5 separate regions of the Homo sapiens genome follow, and all the other regions are linked to region 4. The links are contacts of gene promoters, found by promoter capture Hi-C in human tissues and cell types (Jung and others, 2019). All regions are on one chromosome and are shown on one strand. The core of a region is centred on a gene start or on the middle of the fragment in contact, and the rest is flanking DNA. Distances in the headings are between cores, read along the strand shown. Region 1 has its middle 66 kb from the start of LINC02519. Region 2 has its middle 130 kb from the start of LINC01615. Region 3 has its middle 61 kb from the start of LINC01615. Region 4 holds the start of THBS2 (thrombospondin 2). Region 5 overlaps LOC102724357 (a long non-coding RNA gene).

What was found. Contacts are between HindIII fragments. The study calls those that stand out against the background at their distance.
Region 1: a fragment that was not itself captured here is called in contact with the fragment with the promoter of THBS2 in region 4 in 1 of the 25 tissues and cell types used here (IMR-90 fibroblasts).
Region 2: a fragment that was not itself captured here is called in contact with the fragment with the promoter of THBS2 in region 4 in 5 of the 25 tissues and cell types used here (H1 embryonic stem cells, aorta, bladder and 2 more).
Region 3: a contact is called between a fragment that was not itself captured here and the fragment with the promoter of THBS2 in region 4, in 2 of the 25 tissues and cell types used here (H1 embryonic stem cells and IMR-90 fibroblasts).
Region 5: a contact is called between a fragment that was not itself captured here and the fragment with the promoter of THBS2 in region 4, in 1 of the 25 tissues and cell types used here (mesendoderm cells).

The regions. Positions count from the first base shown.
Region 1 is chr6:169,453,042-169,455,741 of GRCh38, reverse strand. It overlaps a transcript of WDR27 not described here. Among named protein-coding and RNA genes, the nearest start is that of LINC02519, 66 kb to the right of the region's middle. The HindIII fragment of the contact is 5,881 bases long and covers 1-2,700 here.
Region 2 is chr6:169,031,130-169,033,829 of GRCh38, reverse strand. No RefSeq gene overlaps it. Among named protein-coding and RNA genes, the nearest start is that of LINC01615, 130 kb to the left of the region's middle. The HindIII fragment of the contact is 5,289 bases long and covers 1-2,700 here.
Region 3 is chr6:169,100,617-169,103,316 of GRCh38, reverse strand. No RefSeq gene overlaps it. Among named protein-coding and RNA genes, the nearest start is that of LINC01615, 61 kb to the left of the region's middle. The HindIII fragment of the contact is 7,926 bases long and covers 1-2,700 here.
Region 4 is chr6:169,252,489-169,255,188 of GRCh38, reverse strand. THBS2 (thrombospondin 2) reads left to right here and starts at 1,343. Exons shown (of 22, transcript NM_003247.5): 1 at 1,343-1,465. RefSeq lists enhancers at 1,757-2,268, 2,269-2,700. The HindIII fragment of the contact is 15,923 bases long and covers 1-2,700 here.
Region 5 is chr6:169,068,072-169,070,771 of GRCh38, reverse strand. LOC102724357 (a long non-coding RNA gene) reads right to left here. Exons shown (of 2, transcript NR_134619.1): 2 at 1,348-1,583. Among named protein-coding and RNA genes, the nearest start is that of LINC01615, 94 kb to the left of the region's middle. RefSeq lists an enhancer at 1-958. The HindIII fragment of the contact is 4,836 bases long and covers 1-2,700 here.

The DNA of each region.
Region 1 (2,700 bases), core at 121-2,620, 200 kb before region 4:
GGAAGACAGCAGCCAGGAAAGCAGAGAACAAAGCCAGGGGGCATGGAGGGCAGGGCTCTGGTGTGGCCTCTGGCCTGGGGTGAAGGACTTGGCCACTGTAGACTCAAGAGGCTTCCCTGCCTGGTTCCGATCAGCAGTGCTCCCCACACCACTCAGAGGAGGAGTAGGTGGTGCTGTGAGTGGATGCCTTAGAGATCTGCCTTTCTAATGGTGGGATGTATCATGTTTATTTTTTATCTGTACTATTCTATCCATAATGAAATGTTCTGAAGTAGTGAACAGTGTGTTGTAACGTAAAACTGGTTGGTTGCTCTGCCTTCATCAAAAGGTAGTAATAAAAATAACATGTTTATGTAGAGCTTTTTAGTTTTCACTTGATTCCAATTCATCGTCTCATTGTTCTAATAGACCTGTGTGTTTGATAGGCATTGTTGTTATTCTTAGCCTCACTTTCCAAATACTTATCAAGAGCTGTGCCACAGAGAGAAGCCATGACATTCTGTCTTGGAAAATCCATTTAAAGGCATACTGCTCCCGTGCAAAGTCTGTCGACTTGATCAGGCTGAGAGGCCCTGGCCTTTTCCAAGGTCTGTGTGACGAGGACTGAGCCAGGCTTTCCAGCTGCACCTCACGCAGGACAGAGCAGCCAGGGTGTCCGGGAGGGCTCAGCTGCAGGCCAGGGCGCTCAGGTCTCAAGGAAAGTCCAGGTTCAGACACTAGGCCGGGTCGCCTGGTACCAGAGCCCGCAGTCTTTGCTCACCCATGCCCCAGGACAGCTTTCTTGATCTGTGGTGGTCCTGCTTCACCAACCGAGTGGACACAGGCTGGTGAGGAGCCCACGGCTGGGCACACACCTGTGGACAAGTGCTGTCCACCTGCAGCCCTGGCAGCCCAGCCATGGATGTGCAGGGGAGGAAGGATGAGCCCCGGCTCTGTCTAGCCTGCTGTCTCCGTGATTACAGGCTGTGAAGATTCCTTCTGGTGCTTGCGTGATAAGATGATTCATATCATGTGGCACATGTCATGGGGCTTGCACAACTTTGGCAAGTCCATGTTCTTTAGACAACAAAGCAAGAATGTGATCGTGGTCCCAAGTCTGGCCACCAAGGGGGGTGGTCTGAACATGCTGGAATAAACAATATCTGTTCGTTTTTGACATTCTGTTTAAGGCATTCTTTGCAGATGTGGGAGCTCATTCTTTTTCCTTAGCTTAAAGAAAACTGTGTGTATTTCAGACTTATTGAAGGAGGACGCCTGGGTGTTTTCAGAGTAAAGGTGCTGTTATCACTGTTTGGCAAATGATTGGCTACTTAATGGAGAAAAAGATAACCTGTGTGAGTCATGTACCCACATGCAGGTCAAGCAGCCTGGAGGAACCAGGTGGCAGCACCAACTCACCGTTTGACAGGACCACCAAGAAATCTTTCTCAGATACCTAGCAGATATCTCCGTGGTGATAAGACTAGACTGAGCCATACCCAATGACCAACATGCAAATGGTTTTGAATAGCAATTTCATATAGCTCACACAAATATGTTTTTCCAAAAAGGGAGCAGAATATAAAATCCTGCCTCCTCTCTTTTATTTCTCTCATTTCTTTTCTCCTTTCTGACAAAAATTTATTTAGTGCCAACTTTGATTCAGGTCGTCATTAGGAATAATGTAATCAATTTCTTTTTTTCTGTATGTTCCCAACTTAATTTTATTTTTACTGTTATTGTAGCATTAACATACTCTCAGAACACACTGCAGCTGCCAACCCAAAAGAGATGGTTCATGAAAGTATTGTGCACCATGGAGAGCTAATCCAAATTTTATTTTTTTGTCTGAGATAGTTCTCCAGTGGACAGCTGACAGTTAATGTTGGTGATCTGCTTTGTGTTTAGGTTATAAGTCCCTTGGGGTGTGAAATTACCTTAAGCTATGAAATTATCTTACATTTAATGAGCCCAAATTCTTACTAATCTGTATCATATTCAGTAACGTATTTGGACTTTTCAACAGAGAATTTAAGAAATGATACAATTTAATGCCTATTTTTGTCACATAAGAGGCCAAAGATTCCAGATGGTTAACATTTTAATTGAAGTTAACATGGAAGATAAATGAAACAAGCTTGACTGGTCAGTAGAAATTAGGTTCTCTGCAATTTTGAAGGTGAAGAGAAAATTGAACTGTCACTAACATGAGGACTTCAAAAGGAATAGTGGGACAACCCAGGAGAGAAAGCGTGGGACTCCCAGAGATGGAGGCTGAGGCAATGTGTCCCAGCATGTGAGCGGCAGGCTTGGATGTGGATTCCCTCCATGTAGCAACAGCACGAACCAGCCCTAGACTTACTCTTTTTTTTTTCCCAACGGATGACCTGGACATTCTGAAGTTGCATTAATAGCAAGTTTATATTCCTAATATAAATACATCTCCTCTGAGTCTTGGAAAATGGGATCAACTTAATTGTCTCCACATGTATGCTCTGGGGAGCCTGGTCCTCACTGAACCCCAGTTACAAAACCTACAGCAAATTTTTGTCCAGATCACTGTCCATCCAGCTTGCCGTGTTCTGGAGGAAGATGTTTTGTTTTATAGTTTGTGCTATAGTCATGAGAACAAGCAGCTTGTGTTCTATATCTTCTTACTTTTTGAAGCAAGTGTGCTGGGTACTGTTCACGCTGATCAGCCCTAGGCCTGGGGGCCGTGCC
Region 2 (2,700 bases), core at 150-2,649, 220 kb after region 4:
TGAGTGCCCTTGACCTTGAAGGATGGGAAGACCACAGCAGTTGAGCTTCAATGACCCCCATTGCCACTTCACTCTCCAAGCTGGCCATTGCTTTTCATAAAGCACCGCAAAACTTAGTGTCTTTAAAAACAACACTAAATCACATTGTTCTCAAATCGAGCGTTCTTAGGGTTCAGGTCATCAGCTCACCCCAGGGGAATGTTGGACAACTGAGTCTGCAGCCATCTGTACAATGATGAAACCAAGGTTGAGCATCTTGGGAGGAGTGTGGGGTAGAAAGGTAAAACACAGTTCCTGGTTGGATTAAGGAAGGCACACGGTGACAGGATTTGGCAGCCCACTGGGGATGTCTGGCCATGTCTAAGGTTTGGAAGATGACAATTCTTTTTTTTTTTTTTAGAGTATTTTATTTTATTTTATTTTATTTTTCAGTAACTTCTTTTTTTAAATTAATTAATTTATTATTATACTTTAAGTTTTAGGGTACATGTGCACATTGTGCAGGTTAGTTACATATGTATACATGTGCCATGCTGGTGTGCTGCACCCACTAACTCGTCATCTAGCATTAGGTATATCTCCCAATGCTATCCCTCCCCCCTCCCCCCACCCCACAACAGTCCCCAGAGTGTGATATTCCCCTTCCTGTGTCCATGTGATCTCATTGTTCAATTCCCACCTATGAGTGAGAATATGCGGTGTTTGGTTTTTTGTTCTTGTGATAGTTTACTGAGAATGATGATTTCCAATTTCATCCATGTCCCTACAAAGGACATGAACTCATCATTTTTTATGGCTGCAGAGTATTCCATGGTGTATATGTGCCACATTTTCTTAATCCAGTCTGTCATTGTTGGACATTTGGGTTGGTTCCAAGTCTTTGCTATTGTGAATAATGCCACAATAAACATACGTGTGCATGTGTCTTTATAGCAGCATGATTTATAGTCCTTTGGGTATATACCCAGTAATGGGATGGCTGGGTCAAATGGTATTTCTAGTTCTAGATCCCTGAGGAATCGCCACACTGACTTCCACAATGGTTGAACTAGTTTACCGTCTCACCAACAGTGCAAAAGTGTTCCTATTTCTCCACATCCTCTCCAGCACCTGTTGTTTCCTGACTTTTTAATGATTGCCATTCTAATTGGTGTGAGATGGCCACACATCTCATTGTGGTTTTGATTTGCATTTCTCTGATGGCCAGTGATGATGAGCATTTTTTCATGTGTTTTTTGGCTGCATAAATGTCTTCTTTTGAGAAGTGTCTGTTCATGTCCTTCGCCGACTTTTTGATGGGGTTGTTTTTTTTTTTCTTGTAAATTTGTTTGAGTTCATTGTAGATTCTGGATATTAGCCCTTTGTCAGATGAGTAGGTTGTGAAAATTTTCTCCCATTTTGTGGGTTGCCTGTTCACTCTGATGGTAGTTTCCAATAGATGCAGAAAAAGCCTTTGACAAAATTCAACAACCCTTCATGCTAAAAATTCTCAATAAATTAGGTGTTGATGGGACGTATCTCAAAATAATAAGAGCTATCTATGACAAACCCACAGCCAATATCATACTGAATGGGCAAAAACCGGAAGCATTCCCTTTGAAAACTGGCACAAGATAGGGATGCCCTCTCTCACCACTCCTATTCAACATAGCGTTGGAAGTTCTGGCCAGGGCAATTAGGCAAGAGAAGGAAATAAAGGGTATTCAATTAGGAAAAGAGGAAGTCAAATTGTCCCTGTTTGCAGATGACATGATTGTATATCTAGAAAACCCCACTGTCTCAGCCCAAAATCTCCTTAAGCTGATAAGCAACTTCAGCAAAGTCTCAGGATACAAAATCAATGTACAAAAATCACAAGCATTCTTATACACCAACAACAGACAAACAGAGAGCCAAATCATGAGTGAACTCCCATTCACAATTGCTTCAAAGAGAATAACATACCTAGGAATCCAACTTACAAGGGATGCGAAGGACCTCTTCAAGGAGAACTATAAACCACTGCTCAAGGAAATAAAAGAGGATACAAACAAATGGAAGAACATTCCATGCTCATGGGTAGGAAGAATCAATATCGTGAAAATGGCCATACTGCCCAAGGTAATTTACAGATTCAGTGCCATCCCCATCAAGCTACCAATGCCTTTCTTCACAGAATTGGGAAGATGACAATTCTAATCGCCCCAGACTGGGGAACTCAATATTTACCTAAGTGTTTTTCAATCAGCTCTGGCTCTGTTGCAGGGAGCGGTGATGCTGAGGAAGTCAGAGGCAGGGGAGATAAGTGTCGGTGGAAAGGAGCATTTTGAGCAGGACTGTGCTTCTGGGTGCTGCACAGTGTGCTAGGTCTGAACTCATGATCCATGAGACAAAACGGGGAGGGCAACATGAATTCGCTCAGGCATACTTCCCTTCAGCCACAGGGCAGGAGGGTGAAGAAACCCAGGGAGGTGCACAAAGTCACTCCTGCACATGCAGACACAGGGAACAGCACCAAAGCAGAAACCACTTCTTGCCGACAGAAGAGGCATTTTCCCCTGCATGGCAGCTTATTCTTTACACAGGCACAGAACTTATTTAGACATCTGCCACATTTGGACTTCAAACTCAGCTATTTTACCAGAGATGTTTAAATTAGGAAAAGCCATGATCTATTCGAGCTTGGGACAAAAATAGCATTTGCTGTATTTGCAGATTTCT
Region 3 (2,700 bases), core at 46-2,545, 150 kb after region 4:
TTCTATTCAGGTCCTCCTGAAGTGTGCACCATGCTGGGCCAGCTGGGCCCTGGAGCATTCAATCCTGTCATTTGGTTCTAACAGCCTTCGCTGGGCTGCTTTGGGTCAGACCCAGGCATGCATAGCTTTGCAGTGAGCCCAGAACTTGCACATAGATTAAGGGGAGCCTTCTCCAGATATCTCCTCTCTGAGACTTTCCTCACACTCCATGGTGACTAGGGGCACGTTTTTCTTGTCCTCTTGTTAAAAGTCTGGGATCATCGCCTTTATGCACCATCACTGTTCTTATAAGATTTGAAGGACAAATCTCCCTTCATGTTCCAGGGGCTCATTGTCAAATTGTCACAGTTCCCAAGTTTACTCCAGTGAGAGAAACTTCTACCATGATTTTATAAAATAGTCTTTCACAGTCTCCTTAAAATCCTAATATCTTTACCTTATTATGCCAACTCAGATAATAAAAGGGACACAGGAAAGGTGTCTGGTGTTATCCAGCCCAAGATGCTTATCTTATCACAATTGACCAAACTAGACTACACCAAATCCCATGATGTGCCTCCAAAATTCTAAAAAACACATATATATTTGTATTTGTATGTACATGTGTATAATGTGAAAAATATAGGCTTTCATCTTTTCTTCTCAGAAGGGAAAGGTGTTTATATATTTTAAGTATTATAAACAAACAAAAAAACCAATATGTAAATACATGTTTATTCACAGCTGGTATTTCTTTTTTTTTTTTTGAGATGGAGTCTTGCTCTGTCACTCAGGCTATAGTGCAGTGGCATGATCTTGGCTCAGTGCAACCTCTGCCCTTTGGGTGCAAATGATTCTCCTGCATCAGCCTTCTGAGTAGCTAGGATTACAGGTGCCCGCCACCACACCTGGCTAATTTTTGTATTTTTAGTAGAGACAGCATTTCATCATGTTGGCCAGGCTGGTCTCAAACTCCTGACCTTAAGTGATCTGCCTGCCTCAGCCTCCCAAAAGGTTGGGATTACAGATGTGAGCCACCACACCCAGCCACAGCTGGTATTTCTGAAGTTTGTGTCAGCTGATGGAAGAGGAACAGTCTGGATGTGTTTTGCTGCCCTCTTTGCACTTAATGCTAATTTTAATTTTACATGACATTTGTATTAGTCATCCTATCCATTTCATTATTAAAATCCTCCTCTGCTGAGGTCACCCATTGATGAGCACTCACATGGGATCCAAATATCTTCCCAGTTTTTGATCACTCAGAGAGATCCATCCAAATACCTTTTCCCTAAATTTCTTTGTCACCAATTTTTCAATCATGCTTCTTCCAAGTCCCTGACCATCCAGCCAAACCATTGGCTATAGTCCATGGATCAGTACATAAGTCCAGTGTGTTTGCTACTTCTTGCTCACTGGGTCCAGTCAGCATAATGTCATCAATGTAACGGACCAGTGTGATATCCTGTGGAAGAGAAAAGTGATCACGAGCCCTGCAAACAAGATTATGACACAAAGTTGGAGAGTTGATATACCCATGAGGTAGGACAGTGAAGGTATATTGCTGGCCTTACCTGCTGAAGGCAAATGGCTTCTGGTGGGCCTTATGGACAGGAATGGAGAAATAAGCATTTGCCAAAGTAATGACTAAATACCAGGTACAGGAGATGTGTTAATTTGTTCCAGCAATGAAACTACATGTGGTACAGCAGCTGCACTTGGAGTCACCACTTGGATAAGCTTGCGATCATCCACTATCATTCTCCAAGATCTGTCTGTCTTCTGCACAGGCCAAATGGGAGAGTTCAACGGGGACATGGTGGGAATCACCACCTCTGTGTCTTTCAAGTCCTTGATGGTGGCGCTAATCTTTGCAATCCCTCCAGGGATATGATATTGTTTTTGATTTACTATTTTTCTAGGTAGAGGCAGCTCTAATGACTCTAATGGCTTCGTTTGGCCTTTCTCACCATAATAGCCCTCACTCTACCAGTCAGGGAGCCAATGTGGGGATTCTGTCAGCTGCTAAGTATATCTATGCCAATTATGCATTCTGGCACTCGGGAAATGACCACAGGATGAGTCTGGGAACTCACTGGACCCACTGTAAGTCAGAGCTGAGCTAAAACTCCATTAATTACCTGACCTCCATAAGCCTGTACTTTTAACTGGCAAACCACAATGACATTTTGGATCCCCTGGAATCAACATCAGCTCAGAGCCAGGGTCCAGTAGTCCCTGAGAGGTCTGATCATTTCTCTTTCCCCAGTGCATAGTTACCCTGATAAAAGACCAAGGTACGATGGGAGAAAAATTAACAGTATAAATTGTCAGTAGTGTAGCAGGGTCCTTCCTCAAGGGGACCTGGCCTCTCCTTCATTCAAAAGGTTCTGGGTCTGAAAACTGGTTCAAGTCTGGAAATAGATTGAGGGGCCATGATTCTCTATTTTTATAATTCAAATTAGTCTTTTGTTTACTCAACCTGGAAGTTTTCTGCTTATACAAATTAAGTAGGAATTAAGGCTTCCTATCAATTTTACTTCTAAGAATACTGTGATTAATTAGTCAATGCCAGAGTTCTACATGAATTAGACTATTCTGATTGCTGCTTTGTCTCTGCTGTCCATTATAGTAGCTACACCCACCTTGCCTTTGATGGTTGAGTGCCACCACTTGGCCCCTGCCATCTTGGGATCCAATTATTCACACTGTGTTTAAGTT
Region 4 (2,700 bases), core at 94-2,593:
CACACAAACGTGAAGGAACCTGACAGGCAGGTGCCGACATGAAGCAGGTGCAGGTGGCTCCGGGCAAAGCAGCAGCTCCCCAGTCACCATCCACCCCACCTGGGGAAGTAGCACCTCCCCCATCCAAGGTCCACCCCAACCCAGGAGAAGCAGCAGCTCCCCTGTCTGCCATTAACCCTGACCTGGGAGAAACAACACATCCCCAGCCACCTTGCACACTGACCTGGGAGAAACAGCCTCTCCACCATCCACCTTTCACACTGGCCTGGGAGAAGTGGCACCTCCCCCATCCACTGTCCAGCCCAACTTGGGAGAAGCAGCCCCTCCCCCATGTACCATCAACCCCCACCTTAGAGCAGCAGCTTCCCCTTTCCACTGTATACCCTGACCTGGGAGAAGCAGCCCCTCCGCATCCATCGTCCACCCTGACCTCTGAGAAGCGGTGCCCCCCACCCCCATGCAGAGTGCACCCTGATTGCGGGTGATGCCTGAGGTGTGGGAGGGGCGGGGGTTAGCTGCTGCCACTGCTTCTCGTTCTCTCGAGTCCTTGCTCTGTGCCTGCACGTCAGGTTGTTCCTGTGATGGGGCCACGTGCAAGTGTGCACCAAGGGGACTTGGCCGGGTACTGTACGTCCACTGGGACACACCCTTCTACGGGTATTGCACGTCCACTGGGAGACGTCCTTCTAGGGGATCCTCACTGAGCAAATGAAGCAGAATTTGGGTAAAAATGAATTTTCCCAAAGCTGCAGTACAGCTTTTCAGTCCTCTAACTGCCTGAGATAAATGTTGGCAACTTCCTTTTATATTAAATTTCATTTTTGTCACATAATACACTTGATTATTGACCATAATAACTTTATTAATATACAGACTGATTATTGATACTCACCGATGTATTTCATGTGTTATTGAGAGTCACTCATTTGGTTTAGAAAGACCAATATCACATTGAGTAATTCGAAACATATTTAAGGCATAGAACTTGCATTTTTTTCTCTTAAGCAAAATGAGGAGTTCTAGCCAATCTTGCTAGTGTTATTTATAGCATCTTATTTCCTGAGAGAAGACAGGAAAAGTGAGTCCCTGCCTTCCCTCTCTCCGTCTGGCTCCTCCCAGGCCTGTCTGGCAGGGGCCGGGGTGCAGGAGGAGGAGACGGCATCCAGTACAGAGGGGCTGGACTTGGACCCCTGCAGCAGGTACTCGGAGCAAATGGTGAGATCAGAAGGGGGATGATGTCATTCCTTCGAAGGAATGAATTAAACGTGCTTCCTCGTGTGTCTGATTGACAGCCCTGCACAGGAGAAGCGGCATATAAAGCCGCGCTGCCCGGGAGCCGCTCGGCCACGTCCACCGGAGCATCCTGCACTGCAGGGCCGGTCTCTCGCTCCAGCAGAGCCTGCGCCTTTCTGACTCGGTCCGGAACACTGAAACCAGTCATCACTGCATCTTTTTGGCAAACCAGGTACGATTATTTCTTAAACTCAATCAATTATTTAATGGTGCTCTAATTTTAAGAAATTAGAGTTCTCGAACTCTAAGAAGCGGAGAAGAAAAAGGAGCAATTTCGATTCTTAACTTAAGGTGGGTGGTGTATCTATTAACACTAAATGGCAAGTGTTTCTTCACGTGGTGTTTCTACTGCCCGCTTGAAGAGCAAGGCACGTGGCCGCTCCTCAGCTTTTCCTCCGTGGCTGTGCTTTCACCAGCCGGGCACCCCTTCCTCTCTGAGGGTTGTGGCTGCTGCTATTTCAATGTATATACCTGCCTGGGAACCCGGGTAAACGCTTTATGTTTTCAGTTTCCGAAGAAGAAGATTCCACATGAGAGTTTGTTATTGAGGAGAGAATTAGAAACAACTCCCGGAATATCTGAAAAGTAACTGGAGATTAGAGAGAGACTCTGATTGTTAACATCATTATTAGTAGATTAGAGAGAGACTCTGATCGTTAACATTATTAGTAGATTAAAGAGAGACTCTGATTGTTAACATTATTAGTAGATTAAAGAGAGACTCTGATTGTTAACATTATTAGCAGCTGAAAAGTGGTTTTGAACATAACTAGAGAGTATTTGTGGTAAGTCTATGGAAAATCCTGTGACTGCCGGGACACACAGCGACTTTTAACAGTCTTGGGGCAGTTTGCATATGAAAAGCGAGCTGGCAGGTTGCCTGGCTACCACTTAAGGAAGGTGGGTTTGGCTGCCCAGGACTGGGAGCTGAGCACCCAGGAGTCTGGTGTTTAATCAGACTGCTGTTGGTGGTGGACGGCCGGTAAACAATTAGCTCTCTGCAAAGCTATCTTTTACTTTGATTGTTCATACGAAAAGAGTTTTAAAAGACCTTTGCAAATTCAAACTACATTCTGCTGCAGACAGGCACCGAAATCTTTCTTTTGGAAAAACACAAGCATAAACGTGGATGTGTGGCGTGCAGAGGCTGGGGCAGGGGTGAGCGGCACTGGCTCATCCGTGGCTCCATCCATGCATGCCCGGTGTCCCTGGATGGGCTGAGGCCAGGTAGCCTGGCTGCTCATCCTTCCTGTGGGATGGAGCCTCACTGTCCTTTGACAATCCGCAGCAGGGGATGCTTTGTTAGCCTCCTGCTCTTGTAAGAATCTACCTCAAGGCAGAGACAGTAGGATCTGGTTTCGTCAAAGGAGTTTGATTTAGTTTTTCTAACCTGTCCTTATGAAGCTG
Region 5 (2,700 bases), core at 60-2,559, 180 kb after region 4:
AAGCACCTACTGTTGGTGGAGCCTGAAGCTGTATCATGCGCCTCGAGGGGCTGACTCACAGCCCAGGGCTCAGCCGTTCACAGCGACCTCAGCGTGACTCACGCTCAGGACCCAGGTCCTGTCCAAAGTTATTAAAGCTGCACTCAGGCCCTCTGTGCCTCTGACTATCGCGTTCCTTCACAATTATTAGCAGAGAACCCCTCCTGGTGAGAGCAGGCTGAAATATCTGAAATTCATTTTCTTTTAAGGGACTCCAGTTTGGCACATAAATTTCCCCTCTTTGCTCTCCCCAGAAAACACACTGTGAATCTGGCATTTCTTTTTCATCATGCTAAGAACACATGGGAACGTCATAGTTTTAATTTACTGTATTGCATGTATTTAAGGTGTGTGACACGCTGTTTGGATCCAGTGATCTGGTCATGCACACTCATAGGGAAGCAAGGACTACAGTCAAGCCAATTAATGCGGACATCATTTCACACAGTTGCTGTGTGTGTGCGGGCATGGTAAGTGTATCAGTCAGGGTTCTCTAGAGGTACAGAGCTAATGCAATAGATGTATATGTAAAAGAGGAGTTTATTAAGTATTAACTCACCCAATCACAGGGTCCCACAATAGGCGGTCTGCAGGCTGAGGAGCAAGGAGAGCCAGGCCAAGTTCCAAAAATGAAGAATTTGGATTCTGATGTTCAAGGGCAAGAAGCATCCAGCACAGGAGAAAGATGTAGGCTGGGAGGCTAGGCCAGCCTCTCGTTTCAAGTTTTTCTGCCTGCTTTATATTCACTGGCAGCTGATTAGATGGTGCCCACTCAGATTAAGGGTGGGTCTGCCTTTCCCAGACAACTGACTCAAATGTGGATCTCCCTTGGCAACACCCTCACAGACAAACCCAGGATCAATACTTTGTATCCTTCAATCCAATCAAGTTGACACTCAGTATTAACCATCACAGTAAGGTAACCTAAAATTTACTCTCTTGGCAAATTACCAGTGTAAGGAGCAGGAATGAACACCTGGGAAATGGGAGGTTGTAGGTCAAACAGTACAGTTTCAGCTTTGTAGGATAAGTCTAGAGATCTAATGTAGAGCAGAGAAAACACATATGTGTTAAGGGTTTCAAGGAGAACGCTAGGAGCTCCCAGAAAGCCAGAGGTTTGTCTCTTTGGCCACCCACTCATGCAAGACGCATCCCCTGCTCTTGTTGTCAAGGTGACGCTGACGCAGATGGACATTGGAGTAATGAGGTCAGAAGCATAGCCTCAAACTAAAGAATGCAATCAACCAGCCAAAAGGCAAGAATTACCTTAAAATAACATAACAATCACAATAAGAAGCATGGCCGTTCTAAGGATATTCCTCGGAGCAAGCATGTTTAATGGAGCTTCATTCTAAACATTGCCCGAAATGAGAACACGAGTTCTCACCAATAGTGAACAGTAAGTCATGTGTGTGTAATTCTTGCCTATAATGCCAGCAGTCAAATCTGAAGCTTCCTGAATACTTCCTTTGGTTTCCTTGCTCCAGGTTCCTCCGGGTTAGTGGAAGCCAAAATGGGTGGCCTCATCCTGGAGATGTATTCACCTACACAAGCGAACACAAATAGTATTTCACTTCCTATCAGTTTCTGCACGGTCCTCTGAGAACTACCAGACAATGGGCAGTAGCTCAGTGGATACACAATCCACTCAGGACTTCCAGATCACTTAAAAACTGGGGCCCGGTAACAAGGAAGTCTGAATTAGCCCTATTTTCCAGTGTTAACACACCACCCTCACGCAAATGCTAGGTGCACATCAAAAAGATACCCTTGATTTTTAAAAATGACTTATCCGTGTAAGTGATAAAAATGAGAAGTCAATGGACTATGGTGTAACTATTTTTAAACCCTTTGCCTGTCTCATGTGCAAAAGCCAATTCAGATAAAAAAGTATGGAATTTAGTCAAAAATAATGTCTGGCGGCCATGGATGGCAGAAGCCGTTTTAGAGGCTGGGACCCTGGACGCCTGAACATGGAGGCTTTGACGTCTCCCCGTACCACCAGCCTCTGCCAAGAGTTGTCTTTGGAGGACAACCTCACTCAAGATAATCTTTCCTTTCTCTTCTGAATCTGGTTTTGTACTTTTTTGGTTTTCCCTCTCAGCTTCCCTCAAAGAACATGGTGATTTTTCTAGATTTATCTAGGGAAGAAAAACAGCAGATTTAAATAGCCATTGTAGCAGCAATGCCATTTTGGCTGCGTTTATGACAAGCAAGTGATCCGTGGTGCTGTTTACTTGGTCTGACATTTTGGTTCTTTGGTGAAAGTGTCTTATAAAATGGGGGTTGGAACTGCCTGAGTCAGTGGACAAAGGAAATCAGATTTATAGGGAGGTGAAAATGAGCCTTCTGAAGTTAGCCTCGTGAGTAGGTTTTGCGTAGATACCTACAGATTATGCTGAAACAATACAAACTTTTTTTTTTTTTACTTACCAAGGTAGAAGACAGGTCTTAAGTATTTTGCAAAATCAATTCAGAATATCATTGTAGGATAAAAATATAAGTAATTATGTTAATTTTGTGTAGGAAATGAGCTTTTAATGAAAGAACAGAAATCTCATATGTGAACCAAATTGAGCAAAGGAATCTGTTTCTGTATTTCTATATTCTAATGTATGTTTTTATATTTCTATATTCTAATGTATGTTTTAACATACTCCA